Linked DNA regions of Homo sapiens: region 1 is linked to region 2. The links are contacts of gene promoters, found by promoter capture Hi-C in blood cells and fetal thymus (Javierre and others, 2016). All regions are on one chromosome and are shown on one strand. The core of a region is centred on a gene start or on the middle of the fragment in contact, and the rest is flanking DNA. Distances in the headings are between cores, read along the strand shown. Region 1 has its middle 11 kb from the start of MIR202HG. Region 2 holds the start of IKZF5 (IKAROS family zinc finger 5).

Region 1 (4,922 bases), core at 417-2,916, about 10 Mb before region 2:
CTCTAGGCACCTGAGCAGCAAGTCTGAGTGGGCGCCCACGGGGCGGAGGCTGTTAGACGCATCTGGTGCTGCACCGAGGAGGCCTGACGTCCCCTGTGGCCAAGCCCCCACACCCATGGGTGCTGCCTCCGGGTGGCTCCTCCGAGGCAGAGCCCTGAGCTGATAGCGCCCATTCGTCTCGCAGGCCTGCCACGCCCCCAGCTCCCTTCAGCACGAAGAATGAGAGCGTTCTGGAGGGGACAGGCCACTGCACTTGCAGAGGGTGGGTTCCTGTCTCTCAAGCCCATACCTCCCTTCCTCCCGATCTCCCCAGCCTCCGCCGCCCACCCCATTTCCTCGACAGTTGGATTCAAGGCTGGTGTCTACCTTGTAGTGGGGACCCAGCCGCCGGGCGCCAGAGCACCCAGACCCCGGAGTCCAGCAGCTACTGGAGGACAAGGAGCAGGCGCTGTCCTTTCCGCAGGAGACAGTCAGGGTGCAGGCGACCTGGCACCCTTGTTGCCGGGACACCCTGTGGCTGAAGGACTGGGAAACAGGGCCTGTGCGGAGCCTTGCAGAGAGGGCATGGCCTTCATTTTCTCCAGCCCTCCCCAAAATGCAGACATTTGCTGAGTACCTGTGGGCACCAGCTCTTATCACCTGGCGGTGCTGGCTGGCAAGTCTGCCTGGCTGCCCTCCAGCCAGAGCCGAGCCCCTTCTCCCATCCCCAAATGCACAGAAGACAGCCAGAGAGCCAGGGTCCTGGGCAGCACCTGCCCAGCCCAAGACTCCACATGAGCACTTAGATATGCAGTGCACACCTGGCTCTCTGCACACACCTGGTTCTCAACAGACACCTGGCTCTCCATGCACACCTGCTCTCAGTGCACACGCGGCTCTGCAGTGTACACCTGACTCTCTGCACACCTGACTCAGTGCACACCCGGCTCTGCAGCGCACACCTGACTCTCTCTGCACACCTGGTTCTCAGTGCACACCCGGCTCTGCAGCGCACACCTGACTCTCTCTGCACACCTGGTTCTCAGTGCACACCCGGCTCTGCAGCGCACACCTGACTCTGCACACTTGGTTCTCAGTGCACACCTGGCTCTCTCTGCAGACCTGATTCTCCGTGCACACCTGGTTCTCAGTGCACACCTGGCTCTCTCTGCAGACCTGATTCTCCGTGCACACCTGGCTCTCTCTGCACACCTGGTTCTCAGCGCACACCTGCTCTCAGTGCACACGCGGCTCTGCAGTGTACACCTGGCTCTCCGTGCACACCTGGTTCTCAGCGCATACCCAGCTCTGTGGTGTAAACCAGGCTTGACAGGCTCTGTGGACCCATGCCTGGCTCTGCAGGTGCACACCTGGCTCTTTCACCAGGGGTCTCCAGTTTTCCTGCGTGCAGGAAGCCCCTTGCCATACCTGCCTCCCCCAGCTCCAGCCATCAGGACCCTTAAGGGATGCTGGATGGGAGCCCGGACTCCACACAGACGTTCACTCCAGGCCTGCTGGGCAGTGCACGGCCACATCCGGAAGAATCCCTCTCACCCCAGGCACCTGCCTCGGGCACAGTGGCCACAGGAGAGGCCTGCTGACCGCCTCCTAAACCTTCCTATACTGGAAGCACAGACTCAGCCAGTCTCCAGCAGCAAACAACGTGACCCACTGTGGAAAAGCTGAGCTGCCTCAAAGGACGTTTCCCAGGTGAAGCCCAGGAATGACGGCCACATATGGGCAGAGCTGGGTGGCAAGGGGCAGGCCTGTGCTCAGTAGACTCAGCCGGACCAGGGCCCCCATGTGGACCCAACGCCACTCGCCGGTCATCCCAACAGTGTCTCTCGCTCAGAGACAAACTCCAAAGGCCAGGGGGTCTCTGCTGACTCTTCCAGGGCATCCATCTGACCCCATGCTGTGCAACAACTAAGCCAGGGCCCTCCGTGGAGTCGCCTTAAACTGCAGCTTGAGCTGCTTTCCCTCTGGGTGTCATGATGCAGCTGTGATTCTTGCTGCCACACGTGGATCATGGAGGCCGTGACTGGGAAGCCAGCAGCTTCACTTCCTGCCACCACTCCCTCTCTGCCAGGCTGCGGTCAATCTGAAGCCACAAAATGACGTCACTTTCCTGCTTTCTCCAGAAAACAGCTCATCCAGATCTGGGCACCCGCTCAGGAACCGCGATGTCGACATCATCTCCAAGAGCCCCTTCAACCCCGAGGCCCCTTGGGCACAGCCTGCACACCTGCCCCACACACTCTGTCCTGTGTCCCGGGCCCCTGTCTTGAGGTTCTGCCCTCCCCGGTGCCCCTGGGCCGAGGGCTTAGTCCCCTGCGGGGTCTCAGGAAGGAACTTCAGGGCCACAAACCTCAGGAGGGTTCCAAAGCCGCCTCAGGAGGCAAGGCGAAGGCAGCTGAAAGCAGCCGCTTCCTCCCTGAGCCAGAAGGCAAGGCCCCCTCCCCCTGCACGGCCAGCTGCTGCACCGCCCTGCAGGGGCACTGAGGCACAGCCCTCTCCACCCAGTGTCCCTGCAGTGCATAGGCTGAGAGGGCGGCTTCCCAAAGACTGGCCTGGTCAGGTGTGGTCAGCTACCCGGGGCCGCCTGTTCCCAGAGCCCCTCTCGAAGCCAGGCCAGGGCTGCCTCTAGGAAGGGGCCATTCCCAGGGGAGCAGCCCCTCAGTGCCACAGTGGGCTGGGGAGGGCCACGGCGGGTGCCAGCCCCCAGGGTCCGCCGCTTCCCCGCTGTCAGGGGGACTCGGTCCTGGCTCAGGAGTCCGGGTCATGCTGGGTCATGCACGTGGCAGGCTGCAAGCGGTGCTCCTGGAATCAGGAGACTCAGGTTTTCTGGAGTCACTGCAGTGACCCCTCAGAGACAGGGCTCCCACAGCACAGATTTCAGCAGGTCCTGCAGCTGGGGCTGGGCAGGAAGTGCTGGGGAAGGGCCTGGCCGAGAAGCCCGAGCCAACCCAGGCCTAGGCAGCTTCTGTCAGGAGCTGTGGCAGTGCCAGACCCTGCCCTGCCACCCCGGGTGGTGACAGCACAGGCCACCGCTCAGCTCCAGGTGCCCCCACAGGCTCATGCACACACAAACAGGGCTGCCTGCCACCTGCGAGGAACCTGCTCTCTCCAGGGACTCAGAAACAGGCGCCAGGCCAGAGACACACCACAGCCAGAAAGGCAGGTATCAGGAGCCAGCGGGTGCTTGGTGCCTGGAGGCCACACCCCAGACACCCACAGGCAGGGCCGGCTCACCCGCCGGAAGACAGGCCCAGGAGGCCCTCTGCAGGGTCCCCAGGATGACCAGGGCCCTGGTGGCATGAGGCTGGTGGAGGGTGTTGAAGCCAGGAACCCTCTCGATGGAGTATGGACCCCATCCTGGCTGGAGGAGAGGTTGTCAGGGCGGGGCTGGCCCTTGGGAGGCACCACAACCCCTGTGCAGGGTACCCCAACCGGGGAGAAGCCACCAGGCCACGCTGGAGTGGGAGCCAGGACCTCAGCGCCAGGTCCCCACCGCGTCTGCCGTGCCCACCCCTAGAGGGTGCTGAATCCTGGCCCCTCCCAGCTCTGGGTGTGTGGTGGGGAGGAGCTGCTTCTCTCCGTCCTCACCCGGCCTTGCCCTCGGCCAGCAAAGACCGCAGAGGAGAGTGAGACCCTTGGGAGCTCCCTGGGCTCAGGGGTTCTGAGTGCCTGTGCTGGGACCTTGGACGGCCAAGACACCGCTTGACTTCCACCTTCTGTCCTCTGGCGCCCGCCTGCACCTGGTCCTCTGCCTGCCCACGCGGCCAGCTAGAAAGCGCGCGCCCTCCAGTGGGAAGGAGAGCAAGGAGTAAAACGTCCCGCCAGGGAGTGGGGAGTGTCAGGAAATTAGGAGGAAGTGTCGGGGCTGCGGCTTGCCGGGATGTAGGAGCACAGGCCCTGGGGCAGAGGAGGGGCGGGGGGAGCCGTGAGAGGCCCGGAGGGAGCAGGGGAGGTGGAGAGGAGCTTTCCCCAGTGGAGCTGGCAGGAAGAGTCCCAGGTGCAAGGAGCGCATTTTAGAATTCCAGGACTCGGGAGGAAACCTGCAGGATGAGGGCTCCCCTTGGGGGCGGCCTGCATTTCTCAGCGGGAAGGTGGGTGTGGGTGCCCCTCACATCACCTGGCGTTTATTTTTGCATGTGTGAAATATAACAACAATTTCCTAGGGGAAAACACCCTAGGGTGCACAAAAGTTGTAAAAATGGGAACATATGGTCCGAAACTCACTGCTGAATAATGTGCTGTCATGAAATTTACTTCAAAAACCCCCTCACGGAGTACAATCTTGGGTAGATGAAGGAGAAAAAAAGTAAAAATGAATTTAAAAATCTCTTAAAGCTTCTGTTTTTTGTTTTTTATTTTTGAGACAGATCTGGCTCTGCTGCCCAGGCCGGAGAACAGCTCACTGCAGCTGGAGCCGTTCTCCCACCTCAGCCTCCGGCACGTGCCACCACGCCCAGCTAATTCTTTTCTTTTCCTTTTTTTTTTTTTTTTTTTTTGAGACAGGGGTCTCACTCTGTTGCCCAGACTAGAGTGTAGTGGCACAATCTCAGCTCACTGCAACCTCCACCTCCTGGGTTGAAACGATTCTCCTGCCTCAGCCTCCCAAGTAGCTGAGATTACAGGCGCCCGCCACCACGCCCGGCTAATTTTTGTATTTTAGTAGAGACGGGGTTTCACCATATTGGCCAGGCTGCTCTCAAACTCCTGACCTCAGGTGATCCGCCCGCCTCTACCTCCCAAACTGTTGGGATTACAGGCGTCAGCCACTGCGCCTTGCGTAATTCTTTTCATTTTTTGTAGCAATGGGGGTCTCACTGTGTTGCCCAGGCTGGTCTTGAACTCCTGGGCTCAAGTGATCCTCCTGCCTCTGCTTCCCACAGTGCTGGGATTACAGGTGTGAGCCACTGCGCCTGGCCAGCTTCTTT
Region 2 (5,362 bases), core at 1,334-3,833:
GAAGGTCAGCATTGCAATCTGATTGTTATGTGACTTGGGAACACTGGTTATTGCCTCCGAGTTCCTCATTTGCAAGATGAAGCCACTAATATACCTACTTCAGAGGTTTACAGGAAGAGTAAATAGGGTAGTGGGTGTAAAATGCTGTCCCTGGTCTACAATAAGTGAGTAAATGCTAGCTTTCCATTTGCCTCTGGATAGAAACCAAAATTAGCCCTACCTTGCATTTCTCCCCACTCCATGCCACTTGTGTCCACAGCCATCTACCTACACTGTGGCATGAGGAAACTCCAAAGCTCTTGACCTTCAATGGCTCCTAACAATCCAAAAGGATCAACCCCCAATTCCCTAAAGTGGCCTCAGTCCCCTTTTGTTGCAGTTTTCTGACCACTCCTTTCCCCTCCTAAACTCTAACCCAGCTTCCAAAGAGCCTATCACTTCCCCAATGGTCCTAGTCATTTCTATCTTCTGAATCTGCACGCAGACTGTAGCCCCTTAGGATTTGTTCCACACCTACATGACATGGGGTTAGTTGCACATAGTTCTAACCTTTCCTCTAAAAGATAAACTTCTTGGAGGTAGAGTATTTTATTCATTATTACATCTGGCATAGCACACAATGCTTCGTGCATGGCAGTAAGAGCTGATATTTACCGAGAGCTGACTACATTCCGAGCACTATTCTAAGTGCCTTACATGAACATATGAGCTCATTTAATTTTCACAACAATTTTGGAATACGCACAATTATTCTCTCCATTTACAGACCAGGAAACTGAGACCCAAAGCATAACCTGTCCAAGGTTATACCACTAGGAAGTGAGAGGGCCTGGGTTCAGATCCAAGCAGCCTAGCTACAGAACCTACGTTCTTAACCACTATGCTACAGTCGATGTTCAATCAATTTAGCTAATTTATGTAAAAGAGCTTCAAAAACTATAAAGGACTATAAGCCACAATAAACCAAAAGTTCAAACAAAATAGGTTTTTGATATCTCTAAGGACGGGGAGACAGTAGTATATGAAGGTTAAGTTTAGAATCAGACCAGAGTTCGAATACCACCAGCTCTATCCCTTTCTATCTGTGGGCAAGCTATTATTCTTTTTCAGCATCTGCAAGATTAAACTACTTGTTAAGATGGTTGTGAGAATTGAGATGACTCAGGTAGAACGAGAACGTGCCTACCACAGAGTATGCGGTCAATAAATTTTGGCTCTAAAACAGAGTCAAATTGTAAAACCAAAGAAATTTTCTTTGCTAAGTTATTAACCAACAATTATAAACAGTATTAAACAATAATCACTTACTGTTTTTTATTGCACTTCAGGCCTGTAAAACAGTCAAATAACATTAATTATCTCTAATAAGAAAAAGGGTCAGAGTTCTGCCTCTGGGCATAAGACTGAAGCAGCAGTTGGAAAGCCTAACTCATTAAAGCAAATGCAAAGGAAACATTAAAAGCACACGTAAGCAGTGGGAAAATTCCCAGTGAAGTGTACTGACAAATACAAGTGTATCCAAATGTGTATGTTCTGAAAAGCATGCTATATAATAGGTCCAAGGGGTGAAGAGCATAGGATGTTAACACAGGGGCTGTTAACAGTTTGTGTGGGTGCACAGATAAGAATTAAGCACAACAAGAGGCTGGTTTCAGCTTAAGTTCATGGAAGAGGGACCGGCACCGGCTCCGGCTCCCCTGGGCGGCGGTGAGTCTATCCACGGAAGATACCCAGGCTCCAGACATGAGATAAGGGGCAGAGGGAACTCTGTCCCTGGCCGGGAAGCCCGAACAACTCCGAAGTCCCTTACTACCTTTGAGCGGGGCCGCGGAAGGAAGGACAGGGAGACACCTGCTCAGAATGAGACTGGGCCTATATTTTAACTATCTTTTTTGGGGGAGGGGGTGTGAAATGTAATCACTCGGGAAAGGTGCGTTAGGGCATCAGGGAGGTGACATCTGTGCAAAATGCATCCAGAGATCCAGAGATCCAGACTCGGTGGCTCTCAGGACGCAACGGCCTGCAAAGGACATCTTGCGGACGCGACCCTCCGACTCCACTCAAGGTACTTGCTCCGCCAAAGCAGCTTCTAGACAGCCCCGACCCCCTTGCCACCAGCTGCCTCCACCAGAGGCCTGAAGGGGGTCGGGGTCATAGACTGCCCGCGGGTAAAGAGTCTGGGGACCCAGGACGTGGAGCGGGGCTCAGGCCGGCGCCCCGAGGCCCGTTAGAAGGCTCTGCCAGCTGCGATTCCAGGGGCCAAGGTCGCCCTGGGCCCCCAGGACGCCAGCCTCGAACGCACTCACCAGCCTGCTGCCGCGCAGCAACCGCACTGCCAGGCCCTCCATCCTCGCCGCAGGCCTCTCCGCTCTGCGCCTCTGGGTCTCTAGCCAGCCCCTGGGAGTTACCCGAGCAAGGCCCCGCCCACTCAGTACCCGCCCCGCACACACCCCCCCTTAATCCCTGCCCCCTGCTGCCTACGGAACCCCAAGAGAGACAAACAGGCCCCTCCTCGCTTTCGCCCTCCATCCTGCTCACGCGAGACTTGAGCAAGGCAGGGGGGCGGGAAGGGAGTCGGAGACACAACAAAGATGGCGGCGGCGACTGTGACGGTGACGAAGACGGCGGCGGCGGCGACGGCATTTAACAAGGCGGTGTGGTTTACTCCATGCAGTTGTCAGGAGGTAAGTAGCAGGCTGCCGGCTCGGACGGCGGCGACGCGGCAGGACAGGGCGGATAAGAAGGAGCGGCCGGAGACTGGAGCTGGGTTCGTGGCGGGCCGGCTGATCCGGACGGAGACTCAGTTCAGTGGAGGGTCGGGCGTGGTCGGTAGGCGGGCAGGTGATGGCCCGGGACCTCTTTAGCCGGAGGGCAGTGGACTGCGGCGCCTATGGCCGCGAGAACCCCGAGGGAGCGGGGTCTCCTGCTGTCATTGCCTTCGAGCAGGAGCTCGGAGGCTCCGGGGCGGGGACTGTTGCTTGGCTCTGACAGGTGGTTCTGCGGGAGGCGTCCCGAGGTTTGCGTCTTCACGGGGTCCCAGGGGCTGGGAGTCAGCCGGGCGCGGGTCTCCTAGGTGTTTCGAATCCTGGCGAGGATGTCGCTCCGAATCTTGGTGAGGCTGCTGCCCCGACGCCGGTCCCAGGCTGATTGTTGGGAGAAGGACGTTTAAAGCCTTCGTATTTTATCTAATGATCCTGCCCGGATCCGTCTCTACTGCATGGGCACCCTTATTTTAGGAACATGTGAGATTTGAGAAAGACATTGTAGCAAATAACTATTCAGGTTCATTCGGGGTTTAGATCTTTGGATAAACTGTGTGGAGCGCGAGTAGCCAAGCCTAGCATGCTCGATGACTGGATCTGAAGCTAAACAAGTTCTAGCAAACACTAACCACGTGGCCTGCTTAGAGTCCCCTTGATGTGCTGGTCAGAACCCGAAAGACGTGTGACAAGCGGAAGAAGACATAAAGGCGTCTTAAATTGTGTGATCTGAGGAAATTCAGTTTTGAAAGAACAGAATGTATTTAAAACAACTTTTTTTTAAACGTAGGAACTAACAATTTTAAAAATTCAATTTAATTTTGATTTATGTCGTGTTGTCACAACAGCTAAAGGTTATTATTATTGATGAGAGTTCGTTACAGTGAATTGAAATGTCTGGTGTTATTTTCCCCTAGCGGTCCAGGATGTTTCCCAGAAAACCGTAGCTGTTTTGTGTTATGATAGGATAAGAAGGATGGGATTCAGATGTGCCCTTATCGGGTGTGCATGTTTTTTTTGTTTTTGTATTTAAAGCCCTTTCCCATTTCCCTACTTAGGACTATGCGTTGTTTTTATGCAACTACAGCTGTTCAGCAGTACTAAGCTTGACCGTTTTGGAAGTGTGCTGTGACTAAATGAAGTTAATCTTAATTTCTTTAAACTGAAGTTTAACTTAAATTTAGACATTAAAAATCTTGCCAAAAACTAATCCACCAGTGAGAAAACGGTAGTCACACCAGTTATTCTTTGGTGATCCTATGGAGCTTTTGCTGAAGTGAAGCTACTGCTTTGTTCTTTGATTAATCTGTCAGTTCGTTTTCTTTTCAGCTAATGTAATGATAAGATTGGCATAAGTTACTAGCTCATTCAACCTGTAGATGCTAATTAAGTTTTTATCTTAAAGGTTTTGATTTGTGGTGTGCTGTTTGTTTTTTATGCAGACCTCTGTATGGCTTTTCAATTTTAGTTGAAATTCTCTCTCCATGGCCTTTTGGAGTCCCTTGCTGTATCTCCGAAGTAAATTTCAATTACTCTACATTTCATCAATGTTGGAGTGGCAAGAAAAAGGAGGAACAGATTTGGGGTGAAAAGGTTAGATTGTATAATTTCTCTTCTGGATTTCTTTCAACATGGTTTTACTTATGTTTTATTTTTATGTTTTGATTTCTGATTTCTCAGAGCCTCATAATTTCTTTTTTTGCCTTCAAGAGTTTTTGACAGTTCTGAAATCAGGAATTGTGTTCCAATTATTTTGGAAGGCCCATGTTACTCCATAGAAACCAATCCTTATTTGTCAACGTTGTCTGTTTATATGTGTTCTATAGCAGAGTAAATCTCAGTGACCATAATTATTAGGCTATGGAGGGTAAACACATCTATTGAACTGTAATCACTTTATGTGTATAGGCCTGCCTTACCCATAAATTATTATGTAAGTAAATTAGTTGCTAATATTGTATTCTTCCTTATGGTTACCTATGAGAAGTAAGACTTCTCATGAATGCTAGGTGAACGAAACATATCCTGCTGTTCCCTAATCATGTTCTCAAAATTCTCCCACAGTTTATAAAAAAGATAGAAGGAAGAAGGAAGATAGGTTAGAGAGCTTCTTCTCTGGTTGTTTCATAGTTGTGAATGCCTTCTAATTTGCATTTCAGTGCCTGTGTTTTAAATTATTAGCTACTGGTTAAGAGGCTGGGGGGGGTGCACATATATACACACATGTAATTGTGTGTGTGTGCTTGTATATATGCTTGCATTGATCAACAGCTTCCCATTTATGAGACTGAAGAAGAAAGATCAGACGACTTCATACAAAATAAATCCTTTATCAGAAACCAAGGAAGATCGGAAATTAGCCTAAATTACCTACTTGAGGTAGAGGTTTTCCTGTTCTTTGGGATATCAAAGCTTAATTCTCTTATACCTCTTTTCCCCCTACCGGCTTGCATAGCCTCTGGTTGTTTTCTGAAAGCATTGATTTTGAGCCTTGAATAATAAATTGGGGGACGCTACTGGCATGACAATACTTTAGGTATACCCTAGCCAGTTTCTATATAGATATCCACCTACACCCCATGGAATTCCATACTATATTCAAC

What was found. Contacts are between HindIII fragments. The CHiCAGO score rates a contact against its expected background, and 5 or more counts as called.
Region 1: a contact is called between a fragment that was not itself captured here and the fragment with the promoter of IKZF5 in region 2, in 1 of 17 cell types (fetal thymus). The highest score is 5.3, in fetal thymus.

What each region holds. Positions count from the first base shown.
Region 1 is chr10:133,256,551-133,261,472 of GRCh38, reverse strand. No RefSeq gene overlaps it. Among named protein-coding and RNA genes, the nearest start is that of MIR202HG, 11 kb to the right of the region's middle. RefSeq lists enhancers at 2,088-2,137, 3,136-3,435. The HindIII fragment of the contact is 5,337 bases long and covers 1-4,334 here.
Region 2 is chr10:123,006,016-123,011,377 of GRCh38, reverse strand. It overlaps IKZF5 (IKAROS family zinc finger 5), which reads left to right and starts at 2,583. Exons shown (of 5, transcript NM_001372123.1): 1 at 2,583-2,684; 2 at 4,202-4,352. It overlaps ACADSB (acyl-CoA dehydrogenase short/branched chain), which reads right to left and starts at 2,372. Exons shown (of 11, transcript NM_001609.4): 1 at 2,307-2,372. The coding sequence starts at 2,348. RefSeq lists enhancers at 2,467-2,796, 3,077-3,306. The HindIII fragment of the contact is 4,856 bases long and covers 1-3,866 here.